Regions from separate parts of the Homo sapiens genome. Here region 2 is linked to region 1. The links are contacts of gene promoters, found by promoter capture Hi-C in human tissues and cell types (Jung and others, 2019). All regions are on one chromosome and are shown on one strand. Each heading gives the region's core, a stretch centred on a gene start or on the middle of the fragment in contact. The rest is flanking DNA. Distances are from core to core; before and after follow the strand shown. Region 1 holds the start of FAM180A (family with sequence similarity 180 member A). Region 2 overlaps MTPN (myotrophin).

Evidence for each region. The method cuts DNA at HindIII sites, captures the fragments that hold promoters and counts their contacts. A contact is called where the count stands out against the background at its distance.
Region 2: a contact is called between a fragment that was not itself captured here and the fragment with the promoter of FAM180A in region 1, in 4 of the 25 tissues and cell types used here (bladder, mesenchymal stem cells, spleen and 1 more).

What each region holds. Positions count from the first base shown.
Region 1 is chr7:135,744,290-135,751,399 of GRCh38, forward strand. FAM180A (family with sequence similarity 180 member A) reads right to left here and starts at 4,524. Exons shown (of 4, transcript NM_205855.4): 1 at 4,216-4,524. The coding sequence starts at 4,291. RefSeq lists an enhancer at 962-2,161. The HindIII fragment of the contact is 9,123 bases long and covers 1-7,067 here.
Region 2 is chr7:135,943,167-135,949,784 of GRCh38, forward strand. The region is part of intron 3 of MTPN (myotrophin); the gene reads right to left. Among named protein-coding and RNA genes, the nearest start is that of MTPN, 31 kb to the right of the region's middle. The HindIII fragment of the contact is 4,210 bases long and covers 271-4,480 here.

The DNA of each region.
Region 1 (7,110 bases), core at 3,274-5,773:
TGCATAGCATTTGTGGCAAAGAGCTTGTTGGAAAGGATTCAAGCTGCAGACCATCTCAAGCCAAACTCCAACTGTATTTTTAATGAATCAGTTGAAGCAACTCGATGGAAAGGACGGTGGGTGTGGAAAGGAAAAGCTCTCGTTTGTAAAAGATCTTTTGCCAGATCTGACTGATGTCATTTACTTTTTGACTCCTGGGCCAGCCCTCTGGAAACAGAGTGCTATTCTGAGCGAGCCAGGGTCTCGGCCCTGTGCGTGGGGGTCCTCTGGGAGAGCTCCTGAAAGGGCTCTGGCAGCCAGCTCCTCTTGGCTGGAAAGCTCCACCATGTAGGGGGGAGCTTGGGGCTGCCGGGAGCAGGTGAGTGGCCCATGGGGGATGGAGAAATATGCAGAGCGGATGAATGAGGACGGGGCACTCTGCCAGCAGATGGACCTGGGGGATCAAATTCAACTCTGCCCTTGCAGCTGGGGGAGCTGGGTCACTTCACTTCTTGCCTCACTCTCCAATTTTCTAACCTGTAAATGGTTAGGATAGCACCTGCCTCACAGAGTTACTATGGAGAGAGGAGATGGCTCTGTATGGGGCACTTGGGCAGTGAATACTTAAAACAATTTTCTTTTTGGATACAGGGTCTTGCTCCATCATCCAGGCTGGAGTGAAGTGGCGCAATCATAGCTCTCTGCATCGTTGACCTCCTGGGCCTAAGTGATCCTACCACCTTGATCTCCTTGCCTTAAGTGATCCTACCACCTTAACCTTCTGAGTAGCTGGGACTACAGGCATGTGCTGCTACACCCAGCTAATTTTTTTTTTAACTTTCCCCTGAGTCACTGGAATTATAGGCGTGCACCACCGTGCCCGGCAGTCAGTGAGTACTTACTGAGTACTGACCACAGGCCTTTCCCTCATGGAACATTCATGACTGAGGACACACACAACCCTTAAATGGACACCTGAAAATGACATAAGGTCCACCAAAAAATGGAAGGGCTGCTCTATTAAACTACTTAAAAAATAACTTGTATGTATTCAACAAAAGCATAGCTATTCATATCCTTAATAGGTGCATATTTCATTCATATCCTTAATAGGTGCATAATTCTTTCTCAAGTCTGGCTAGTCCTCCCCCTTCCAGTGGTGCCCTGGCAGGACCTGGTATGTGCTGGGACGTGGGCCACCTGTGTGTGTGTGTGTGTGTTTCTGTGTGTGTGTATGTGTGTGTGTGTGTAGATGTGGCTTTCCTGGCTTGGCCACAGGTGAGTCATTTGGTCTTCATCAAACTGGTGGGGCTGGAATGGGTGATCCTGGATCCTGGCATGGAAAGCTGCCTCCCAGGGTGGAATCCTAGAGAGCGCTTAGGGAAAGGCTGGGAGGATGGTAGGAAAAAGACAGTGCTAACAACAAGGCGCATATTGCCTGTGGGTTTACATCTACATTTACATTTTGGAGCAGGAGGGTGGGAGGATGGACACGGGGTAGTGGTGGGGCTGGGGGCCAAAGGGCAGGGGGTGGAAGAGGAAAAGCTCTGGAAGAGATTGCCCTAAGACTGTTTCCAAAGGGAGTACTTTGAATTGAGGCTGGAGGTAGGGTGGGGGTAAGGATGAAGGTGAAATGAATAATACATTTGGAAAAACTTACTCATTTGGGTGTGACTCCTATTCAGTCTTGAAAAAAAAGATGGCAAGAATTGTGTATTTCTTTTATAATTAGAAAAAAATGTTAAAAATGAAAAAAAAATCAACTACGCGGAAGACATTTGATGATGGTTGGAGGGACTCTGTATCATTTGTTGACTCAGCGCTGACTTGAGCCATTAATCTAGCACGTCACATCCGCTGCCTCATAGTGACCTCGGTTTGGCTGGCTTTGAGTCAGTGGATTGTGAACTCACTGTGGAAAGACCTTCCCCAATGCGGAAGGACATGGCCCGGAGAAGTTGCTCCCAGAATGTTGCTGTAGATTCCCCTGTTAAGAGCCTTAAACTTCCTTTAATGAAAAATTTTTATTTTTCAAAAACTGGTAGGCAATAGCTAATATTTATATTGTGCTTTGTCATTTACAAAGTATTTTCATCTATATTTTTGAATATGACCCTCACAGTAATAGCATGAGGGTTTTATTGATGTGATGGATGTTAATGTCACCCGTTAGTGAACTAAAGCTCAGAGAGGTTAAGAGACTTGTCTGAGATCACATTGCCAAATAGAGATGGAACTTAAACCAGGACCCTTGCAGAGTAGCTCATGATGTGGCTATCGTGTTTACAAACCATATTGCAAGTCAAATAATCCCTTTTGGCTTTGTAATAGCCTGTGCCTTAGGAAGAGTGGGCACTGTTACCCTGTTTAATAAGCAAATCCCCAGTGTGACAAAGAGGGGAGTGACAGAACCCAACTCCAAGATCTCTTTGCTTTTTACTTCCAAGTGCTACCTCAAAGTTTGTGCACACAATGAAAAGGGAGGTGTGAAAACAGGGTGACTACAGTCAATAACAATTTAATTGTACATTTAAAAAGAACTAAAAGAGGGCCAGGCACTATGGCTCATGCCTATAATCCCAGAACTTTGGGAGGCTGAGGTGGGCAGATCACTTGAGGTCAGGAGTTTGAGAGCAGCCTGGCCAACATGGTGAAACCCCATCTCTACTAAAAATACAAAAATTAGCCAGGCGTGGTGGTGCGCACCTGTAACTCCAGCTACTCAGGAGACTGAGGCACGAGAATCGCTTGAACCTGGGAGGCGGAGGTTGCAGTGAACCAAGATTGCACCCCTGCATTCCAGCCTGGGCAACAGAGTGAGACTCCGTCTCAAAAATAAATAAATAAGTAAATAAATAACAAATAAAAGTAACTAAAAGGGTATCACTGGATTGTTTGTAACACAAAGGCTAAATGCTTGAGGGGATGGATACCCCATCTTCCATGATGTGACGTGCCTGTATCAAAACATCTCATAGGCCCCATAAATATGTATACCTACTATGTGCCCACAGAAATTAAAAATTAAAAATTAAAAAAAGAAAAGGGAGGGGTGTACGTGTGTATGTGCATGTGTATGCAAGGTTGTTATGAGAAAAATGAAGAATGCTGTATTATTTGTTTCTGGGCAACGATCACTTCACAGCTCAGCTCAAAAGACTTATATCCCTGTTAGAGATGTAAGTCCCTAATGTCACGTTTAACCATGAGGAAATAAAACCCAGCATAAGTACAGTAGCTTTTGCCTCCCTCCCATTTCAGATCCTTCTCTCGCGCTGCTCTATCCCCACTCCGGCCACTCCTTCCTTCCCTGACACTGTCCTTGAGAAGCAAGCAGGAGGCGCATCCATGCCACCATGCCAGTTGCCTTCCAATTTTGCATCTCTAGAAACACCTACTGGCCTGACTTGAAGGAGCCTGTTCTTCTTGCGGTTCTTTCTAGGAGAGTGAACTCAGTTGACTTTAGGCAGTGGAAAGATTTCCGTTCATATTGGTGAAGAGTGGGCAGTGCCGTGGGTCCCTCCTTTCCTAACAGTGATAAACTCTGGCTCGAGGTGCTCCCAGTGTCTACCAAGCAGAGCCACTCCCAGGGAAATGGAGAAAAGATGCCATCCAGCTAGGAGGAACTACATCCTGAGGGGGAGGAAGTCAGTGATAAGAGAACAGCCTTTGCTGGGGCCCCTTCCTTTGTGAGGAGGTGGCGGAGCTGGTGGGTGCAGTGGAGGTTGAAGGGTTGCTCTCCTCACCTGCCCACCTCTGGCTGCAGAGATGCATCCCCTCCCGGTGAGGAGGCAACGTTCTGCAGAGCTTCTGCTCTGGTTCCCCCAGGGAGCAGGCCTTTGGCATCCCAGTGCCCATCACTCCATCATTTTAGCAGCAGGTCTCAGCACCTGCTCTCCAGACGGTCTGGCCCAACTGCTGCAGGTGGTGGGGGCAGTCGAAGAAATGAGTTCTACTTTCTATGAAGCAGAAATGAGTTCTCTCTGGGATGCCAGAAAGGGGTACTCTCTGGGTTCTCCACCTCAACCTAATTCCCTCAGGAGCTTTGATTTTTTCCAGTGTCATTTCCCCATCACCCTCTAAGAAGGGGGAACACGTCAAGAAGCATCAAGGAATTGACAGAGATTAGACAAAAGGAGAGTGCGGGGCTTCTAATGTCCTTCCCTCCAAATTTTGAATTGCATTGAAGAAAGTATAATGAGCATCAAACAAACAAATGAATAAAAAGCAACTCACCCCTGCTCCACCTGTGGCACATAGAAGCCTCAGCATTGTAATACAACAGCAGAAGCAGCAACATCTTCCAATGCATCTTGTCCTTCAAAAGGTGAAAAATCGACCCTCAAGCCCAGTGGAACCCCAGTAGCTGCAGGTATGCCCGTGCCGTTCTTCCCAGTGAGATGATGGAGTGCTTCCCTCCCTTCCTTTTGCAGACGTGCAGAAATGCCTACTCTGCCTCAGAAGGCTGGAGGCTGAAGGCTGCGTCCTGGGTGGGACAGGAGTCGGTACCTCTCTTCATTTGACGCTCTCTGGGATTGGGGAACTGGCCTTCCACAGAGAGACTCTGTTTTTGAGCACATCTGGAGTGACTCACGGGGCATGTGATCTCCTTGGCAGTGGGGCGGATAAATATAATTTCTGTACTTGAGTTCCATGTGTTGGATGCACCCACTGGAATTTTTCTTTAACAAACAGACCCGCGGAACTTGTTAGAGAGCCCGGCGAAGAGTTGGCTGCTCTCCCCGTCCACACATACGATACCAGAGCCAGGGGCGAGGGCTGGAGGCAGAGTTGGGAGCCTGCCTGGCAGACACCAGGGCTGGTTGAGCCTAAGTTGCCTTCAGGACAGCAAAATCATTGTGGTGCCTGGGCTGAGTGTCACTGTTGCCTGGCCCTGGAGCTAGACTAGGACATTGGCGCCTAGAGCCTGTGTCTGGTCTGCCCAGGTTCTGGGTGGGTGGGGAGTTGGCAGGTTGTGACCGAGCCGAAGTGGAGAGGTGACATGGTGCATCGGTATTGTCTGTGTGAACGTGCGTAGGTAATGATCCAGGAGCCCACGGGGACCCCCAACTCACATTGGTGATGCTCCCATTTCTGGGCTGTGCCTAGACCTGGGGCCAAGCCCCACAACTCACATTGGTGATGCTCCCATTTCTGGGCTGTGCCTAGACCTGGGGCCAAGCCACTTTGATTTTCCCAAGCAAAATGGGAGTGTTTTTCCATAGTCGTTGTAATATACTGCCATAGACACCTTAATTCTTTCCCAATCACTTCCTCAACTTCTCTGAAATGATAGGGAATGCTAAAGCTTGAAGGACACTTAAAGATTATGTCATCCTGTGGGTTTTCCAGTTTGTGGAGGTGGTGCCCAGGGTGAATGGGCTCCCCAAGAGGGCTCCTCAAAGCTCTACTCTACTGCAAAAGCTCCTCTTTTATCTGCTATAAGAAGTTGTTTGGGAGCCGGGCATGGTGGTTCACGCCTGTAATCCCAACACTTTGGGAGGCCGAAGTGGGGGAATTGCTTGAGGCCAGAAGTTCAAGACCAACCTAGAGAAAATAGACCCTGTCTCTACAAAAAATTAAAAAATTAGCTGGGCGTGGTGGCATGTGCCTGTAGTCCTAGTCACTCAGGTGGCTGAGGCAGAAGGATTGTTTAGGCCCAGGAGTTCAAGGCTGCAGTGAGCTATGATCACAACACTCTACTCCAGCCTGGGTGACAGAGTAAGAACTTTCCTCTTAAAAAAATTAAAAAAAAAACAACCAGTTTTTTTGGGGGAAAAAATACTAGACTACAACATTTGAAAACCAGTACGCTCACTAATATTAATAATAGCTATTAGGTGCTTAATTTGCTTCAGACAGCGTGCTAGGTGCCCTCCTTGCATTAACTGATTTAATGCATCCACCGAACTAGGAGGTTAGGGCACTAGCCAGCAGCACTCTCCAACAGAAATGTAACGTGAATCACAAACGTCACTTAACATTTTCTACAACTCATACTAAAAAAAAGTAAAAAGAGGCTGGGTGCAGTGGCTCACGCCTGTAATCCTAGCACTTTGGGAGGCCGAGGCAGGCGGATCACCTGAGGTCAGGAGTTCGTGACCAGCCTGGCCAACATGGCAAAACCTCGTCTCTCCTAAAAATACAAAAATTAGCCGGGCATGGTGGTGCACACCTGTAATCCCAGCTACTCGAGAGGCTGAGGCAGGAGAGTCTCTTGAGCCTGCGAGGTGAAGGTTGTGGTGAGGCGAGATGGTGCCACTGCACTCTAGCCTGGGCAACACGAGTGAAACTCCATCTCAAAAAAATAAAAAATAGAAAAAGTAAAAAGAAACAAGTGCAATGAATAGTAATAATATCTTTCATTTAATTCAATATATCCAAGATATTATCATTTCTACAAGTAAGTGATATAGTATTAGCAAGATATTTTATATATATATATATAATATTTACATGAGGTCTTTGAAATCTAATGTGTATTTCACACTTATAGCACTTCTCAAGTCACACCAGCCCTGTTTCAAGTACCTGATAGCTCCATGCAGCCAGTGGCTCCTGTATCGGGCAGTGCAGAGCTAGAAGGTGAGAGGGCAGGCTCTGGGGCAAGATGCCTGTCTTTGTATCCCAGCTGTGCCACTGACTAGCTGTGTGATATTGGTGGAGTTCCCTCATCTCTCTTGGGCTTGATTTTCTTCATCTATAGAATGGGGACAATAATAATTTCCTCTCATAGGGTTGTTTCAAGGAATCAATGCATTTTTTTTTAAGATAAAACATTTTGCTTTATTTTTCATTTGCCACATGCATATCTTGACTGTTTACACAGTTATCATTCAATGTAGATACACAATTAATTGCTAAGAGAGAAATTAAATGCATTGCTGATGAATTTATTTTATTTACTTCATTCCAATAAGAAAAGCCACCATTCTTGAGGGGCTCACGGTTCTTTTCCATTTTCCTAACCCTTGAGTATACAGGGAGTAATCATACCTACACTGTCTCTGTTTCAAAAGGTGGTCGTAGATCTCAGCCAGGTAAAAATTTGAGATTTGACAATATTCCAAGTGTAAAGGGTTTTGATTTGGAAATAGGTTCTGTATTAAAAATGGCATAAATGATTATTTT
Region 2 (6,618 bases), core at 1,126-3,625, 200 kb after region 1:
CAAATAATCCTAAAATGTGAGTGGGGGAATATCTGAAGCTATTCAGATTTTATTGGAGGTATGGTAGTAATTCAAGTAACAAATAGTAATTCAAGTAAATATTTGTTCTGCCTGCAGGCACGCCAATTTGCTTATGCTAAAAAGGGCTAACTTTCAGCCCTTATATCTTACACATTTGATTCCCAATTCAAGTAGCAATTCTGCACCACAGACACTTCCCTGAGGAGTCAACAATGCTGATACTTGAGAGGGATATTCAAGTTTTACTAACTGGCTACGTGATTAAAAAGAAAAAGCACAGAAAATACATTTATCAAAAACATGAATGTTACCAGACAAGATGGTTTTTTCTATTTCCTCAGCAGACTGAATTTCAGTATTTTTAAATCTCTATAGCAATTATACATAAAACATAAAACATTTTGACTTCCTTTAAATAAGAATGCAGTTGAGTATACCTTTGTTCTCAAGCCAGGAATAGTTAACTTACAGAGTGGTCTGAAACAGCTGAGTCACTAAAATTAGCGCTGCATAACCATCAGTGGTATATTATATATAGTTGTTGTTGTAAGATTAGAGTTGGCTTCCTGAGGAGATAAATTCTTTTGACACAGAAGCAGAGAAAAAAAGGAAAACAAAAAAGCAGTTCTTTTGGGCTTTCTCCTCTCAGGTATAGCTCAGTGTGCTAAATATCACTAGTAACAAAATGATAGCTTATAATAACAAATTAAGTATGCTGTCAGATTATTTTTGTAATCTAAGAATAAAACTGCAATGTTTTGAAACTTTCATTGAATTCTCAACTCATGGGATTCTGATTCTCTCATGCTGGGGTATAACTTTTTCTATTTATTTATAAGAATTCGTATTTCTATAGGCGATTGAGAGGTCATTTTTAATAGCAGTATATACCATGTAAGGCATGGAGTGTAAATACACCAGCATAAATGACTGAAAGCTTATCTGTCTAAATTCTAAATTATAGCAAATATAACATCTTTAAATGATTGATAAAAGAAGTAAATAATTAGGATATTTCCCCACAATACCCCATAGTTGATTATTTAGAAATAGTATTCCTTAGGATTAGGAATACTGAACTTCTTAAAGTTCTTTATTAAAATTATAAGGAATTATGTACATTATATGGAATTTTAATGAGTATTATAGAAAATATAATCTTCAATATTATATGTATTATGTTAATATTAGAAATGTGCAACATGAGGCCAGGCGTGGTGGCTCGCGCCTGTAATCCCAGCACTTTGGGAGGCCGAGGCAGGCGGATCACCTGAGGTCAGGAGTTTGAGACCAGCCTGGTCAACATGGCAAAACCCCCGTCTCTACTAAAAATATAAAAATTAGCTGAGTGTGGTAATCCCAGCTACTTGGGAGGCTGAGGCAGGAGAAGTGCCTGAACCTGTGAGCCGAGATCACGCCATTGCACTCCAGCCTGGGGGACAGAGGGAGACTCTGTCTCAAAAAAATAAATAAATAAAATAAAATGAAAATAAATGTGCCACATGATAGTGTATTAATACTACAGGCAAACTACTATTATTTCTCTTACAGAATTGTCAAAACTATATTAAGATGTCCAATTATATGTAACTGTGAAAAATATAGTAGTCTCCTTTTATCTGTAGGAGACATATTTCAAGACCTCCAATGGATGCCTTGAAACCACAGACAGTAATGAACCCTAATATATACAGCCACATGTCACTTAACAAGGGAATTTCATCATTGTGTGAACATCATAGAGTGTCCTTACATAAACCTAGATGGTATGGCCTACTACACACGTAGGATATATGTTATAGCCTATTGCTCCTAGGCTACAAACCTATATCCAGTATGTTACTGTACTGAATATTATAGGCAGCTGTAACACGATGGTAAGTATTTGTGTATCTAAACATAGAAAAGGTATGGTAAAAATACAGTATAAAAGATAAAAATGGTACACCTGTATAGGGCACTCATCATCAATGAAGCCTGCAGGACTGGAGGTTGTTCTGAGTGAGATGAGTGGTGAGTGAAGGTGAAGGCCTAGGACATTACTACACACTACTATAGACTTTACAAACACTGTATACTTAGGCTACACTAAATTTATAAGAAAAATTTTCTTTTTTCAGCAATAAATTAACCTTAGCTCACTGTAACTTTTTTACTTTATAAACTTTTAAATGTCTTTAACATTTTGACTGTTTTGTAATAAAGCTTAGCTTAAAACACAAGTACACTGCACAGCTGTAGAAAAATATTTTCTTTTATATTCTTATTCTGTAAGTTTTTATCTAATTAAAAATTTTTTAAAACTTTTTTGTTGAAAACTAACATACACACAAACACGAGCCTAGACCTAGACCTACACAGGGTCAGGATCATCAATATCACTTTTTCCACCTCCATATCTTGTCCCATTGGAAGATTTTCAGGGGCAAGAGAATACATGGAGCTGTCAACTCGTATGATAAAAATGCCTTTTTCTAGAATACCTCCTGAAGGACATGCCTGAAGTTCTTTTACATTAACTTTTTTTTTAATAAGTAGAAGAAACTCTAGTCTAAAATAAGAATAAAAAGCATAGTATAGTAAATACATAAACATATAACACAGTCATTACCAAGCATTATGTATGACCAGCAGTGAGGTAGGTTTGTTTACACCAGCATCTCCATAAGCACACTGTTGACTGAAACGTCATTATATGGCACATGACTGCACTATGTTTTTTCCTATACACACATACCTATGATAAAGTTTAATTTATAAATTAGGCACAGGAAGAAATAATAATAATAAAATAGAACAACTATAACATGCTAATAAAAGTTAACTGTAATAAAAGTTATGGTAATGTGGTGTCTCTCTCACAAAGTATCTTAGTAATGTACTCACCATGACCATGGGTAACTGCAGAAAAGGGGGACTACTGTAAATGAACTCTGAACTTAGGAAAGTCCATCAGCTAATACTATTCAAGAATATGATTTCATGTTTAGCCCCCTTCTAATGTGTTTGTGCAACCTTGCTATTATTCAAGTGTTTAAGATTTTAATCAGAAAGACCAGTTTAGTAATGAACAGTGAATATCCCAGATAAGTGTCCTATAAACTCTTGTTTGGCTACATTAAAAAATCTTTTCAAAAATAAGTGCTAGCATAGTCTAATAAAAGCATCCAGAAGGATACACACTCACCTTGTAGCACTTAGGGAAGCATCATCTTACCACTGAGGGTTAGGGTTTTAAAACGATGTGCCTTATAAATTCCAAACTATTTATGAGCTAGAGCAGGGGTTGGCAAACATGGCCTGGATATTTGTTTTTGTATATGAAGTTTTACTGGGATGCAGCCATGCCCATCCGTTTATGTATTGTCTATGGCAATGTTACATCAGTGACCATGTAGTTTGCAAAGGCATGCCTTCGCAAAAAGGGTATGCCTAGGAAAAAGTTTGCCAACTTTTGAACTGAAGGACTTTTTAATACCACCTTTTAAATATCCTTTTCATTCCAAAAATTTCCTGGTTAAGATTTTTTAGGGCAAATAAAGGGGAACCTTATTTCACTGAGATAATTATAATTCTAAATGACACATGATTATACAGGCTGCCTATTATTGCTTTGATAAAAACAGGCATTGGGCTTGGCCTCTCCACAGACTGCTGTACTGGTCAGTTGCTACTTTTCTATTATGAGTGTCTGTCTCATACACTCACATCAGCTTCTTCACACTCTCACTCCTCTGCTGCTGCTACCTCTTCAAGGATGCTTCTTGAGCCTGCATTAATTATCTGCCTCCTTTCCCTTGTTTCTTCTTGCTAGTTTTACCATGTTTCTCAGGTACTCTGGATTTGGTGAAAATACCAGAAGCTTTGATCATCTCATATTATTTACCTTATTTGGTTCTAGCTTATTTTTTAAAAACTTCAGTGTTAAATATTTGTTTAGAGTTATTCACATACTAATTCACACTAACTTCTTACTTATCATTCCCCTTCTTGCATCTCAGTCTTTCCTTTTGGGTTTAATTTGCTTCTTCCTGAAGTGCATCCAACTTGTCACTCCATTTGTTGCTTGGGGGTACTAGGCACCTCTGGGCGTGGCCTTGGATCAGCTCTTGCCTTTTGCAACAATACTCTCTTGCTCTTATTTGGGAATTTCTTCTTTGGCCCTACCCTGCTTGTTTTCTGTCTTTCAAGGTTTCCTTATCATTTCTTGTTTGATGGATCCAATTCTTCTGGTCCAAAGCAGATACTGATCAACTCACTTTAAAAACATCTTTTCTGTCACTGGGGGCAAAAAGAGAACACCACAGAATGTGCTCACACCTAAACTTTGAAATGGAAGCCTCTCATCTGTTGATCTCTACATTTTTCTCATTTACCAGCTTGCCAATTAAAAATGAGGCCACAAGTCTTTTTACCTGCAGATATGTACATGTTCCATTTCTCATTAACTGACCTGACAGTACTTCTGAAAGGCAATTTCAAGTAATAGTAAGAACACAGGCTGCTGAATCCTACATCTTGGAACAAATCTTGATTCCATTACATTGTATTTGACTTTCAAGCAGTTAGACCACCCCGAGATAAATGGTTTCCTTATCCATAAAAGAGAGATAATAATACCTAAGTATTTGGGTTTATAATAAATTATAAATGATACAGCATATCATATAAAGTTTGATTTCAAATATTCTAGCAATCATGTTTGTTTTTCTGATTTCTCCCCTATTAGTTGTGATCATACTGAGTTTCTAAATCCCTGTTTATTATTTTGCCTTTTTTCGTATGCTAAGGATAAATCAACTGGATAATGTATTGGAAATGTCAATGAATCTGGAAAGTTCTTAAACCAAGTCTTTTCAAGTGAATTCATAATAATCCATAAGAATTCTACTTTTGATAAAAGGCAGAACAAATTAGACTTAATATAAACACTGATTATAACTTTTAAAAGATGCACTGGAACAACTCTATTTTAGCAACTAAGAATTTTTGAAAGAGTATAATCAATTTTCAAAAAAAATCTGCCTAACAAAACTACAGGGTATCCATTAAAGAAGCTTATGCAATAATAAAATCAAAGTAATTAATTTTGAAAAAGCAGAACTAAAATGTACTATGCTGATTTCAAAAAGAAGAAAATCTCTTTCATATAAAACAACAGCTCTACATGGTTACAAACGGTCTGCTACCAACATAGCTATCTCCAAATGTCACTTATTTGGCTAAAAAAAGTCAAGGTTCAGACACAAAAGAACAAAATGGGCATAAGCAAAAGAAAAAACAAACTAGTTAAAAGTAAGACAACTCACAATCAATAATTTAGCAACACAGTACACACACAGAGAACCTTCTGGGATGACATCTTAGGGCCTAATGTACATGCAAATCAAGCCAACTTTTCAGGAACTCATTTAATGTTTTCAACTCTTTAACAACGGAAACTTACAACCACAAGGTCTCAATGACCTGAAGCCTCATGTTTTGGGAATAAGGAGTACAGAACAATGGTTTGGGTTCTCTATAGAATAAAAAATATATCCTGTTTTGTTTTTCCTAGGAGGACAGAGAGGTCTAACACAAAGAAAAATTGTTCTGATCTACAGTTTGAGATATGGTTAGAAGGAAAGAGTACATTTAGGGCAGCTCATTTAGTAAATGACAAGGGACCTAAGCAAAAAATGATCCCATGGAGGTTTTTATTTTCAGAGAACAAAACCCTTGGCTGGGTAAAAAAAAGGTCAGGGAAAAGGCGGGAACGAAGGGTAAGGAGGGAGTCCTCCATTTCTTTTGAGAGCTAGCAGATAGGCTGAAGCCATGGAAATAAAGCCAATGCTGAGGAAGAGACCTGGGACAGGCCAAAAATAAAAATAAAAAAATCAGATCATGGTCATGTGTCTTAAATCCAGGGTCAAGCTGTGCCTCAACTGTACAGTTATATAAATTAATAAGATCTCTTTACTGTTTAAGCCTGTCTGAGCTGGGTTCAGTTACTTGCAAGACAGAGTCCTAACTAATACAATATTGAAATTATATAAATCTTTCATAAACAGCAAATCTGTTTTTGATACAGTAAGCAAAAATATTTCCCAGGGATGAAATTATCTAGCAGTATTCAAAGGTACTTTGTAATCCTTTCGCAGATCTTGGGGAGGGATGAACAGTAAAGAGAAAGACAGTGACTGGAAATCTTTGCGAGCACACCCTATCACAGATGCTGGATCCACTAGCGGCAAAGAGTAATATTTCCATTTATTTTGGCTTTTGGACAAATGCATCATTCTTATCAGTAAGGTATAAAAATTGCTCTTGATATATAACCCAAACCCAAACAACAACAAACATATTTAAAGAAATCCAGTAATTGTGGTTAACATGAAGCTATGGATAGAAAAAACCCTAGCTCTATTTAGAGGACCCAAATTAACTGCTTTTAGAACCATATCTTTACAAAGTTGTCAATAAAGTGTTAAGAGATAAATGTGCTATCTTCTTTCCCAATTTTCTTCGTATCTTACTGAAGCTGACACTACAAAGCATTAAAATCCTCTTCAGCCTTAGTTATAATAAAAGCTACTACTTATTGAGTGCTTACTATGT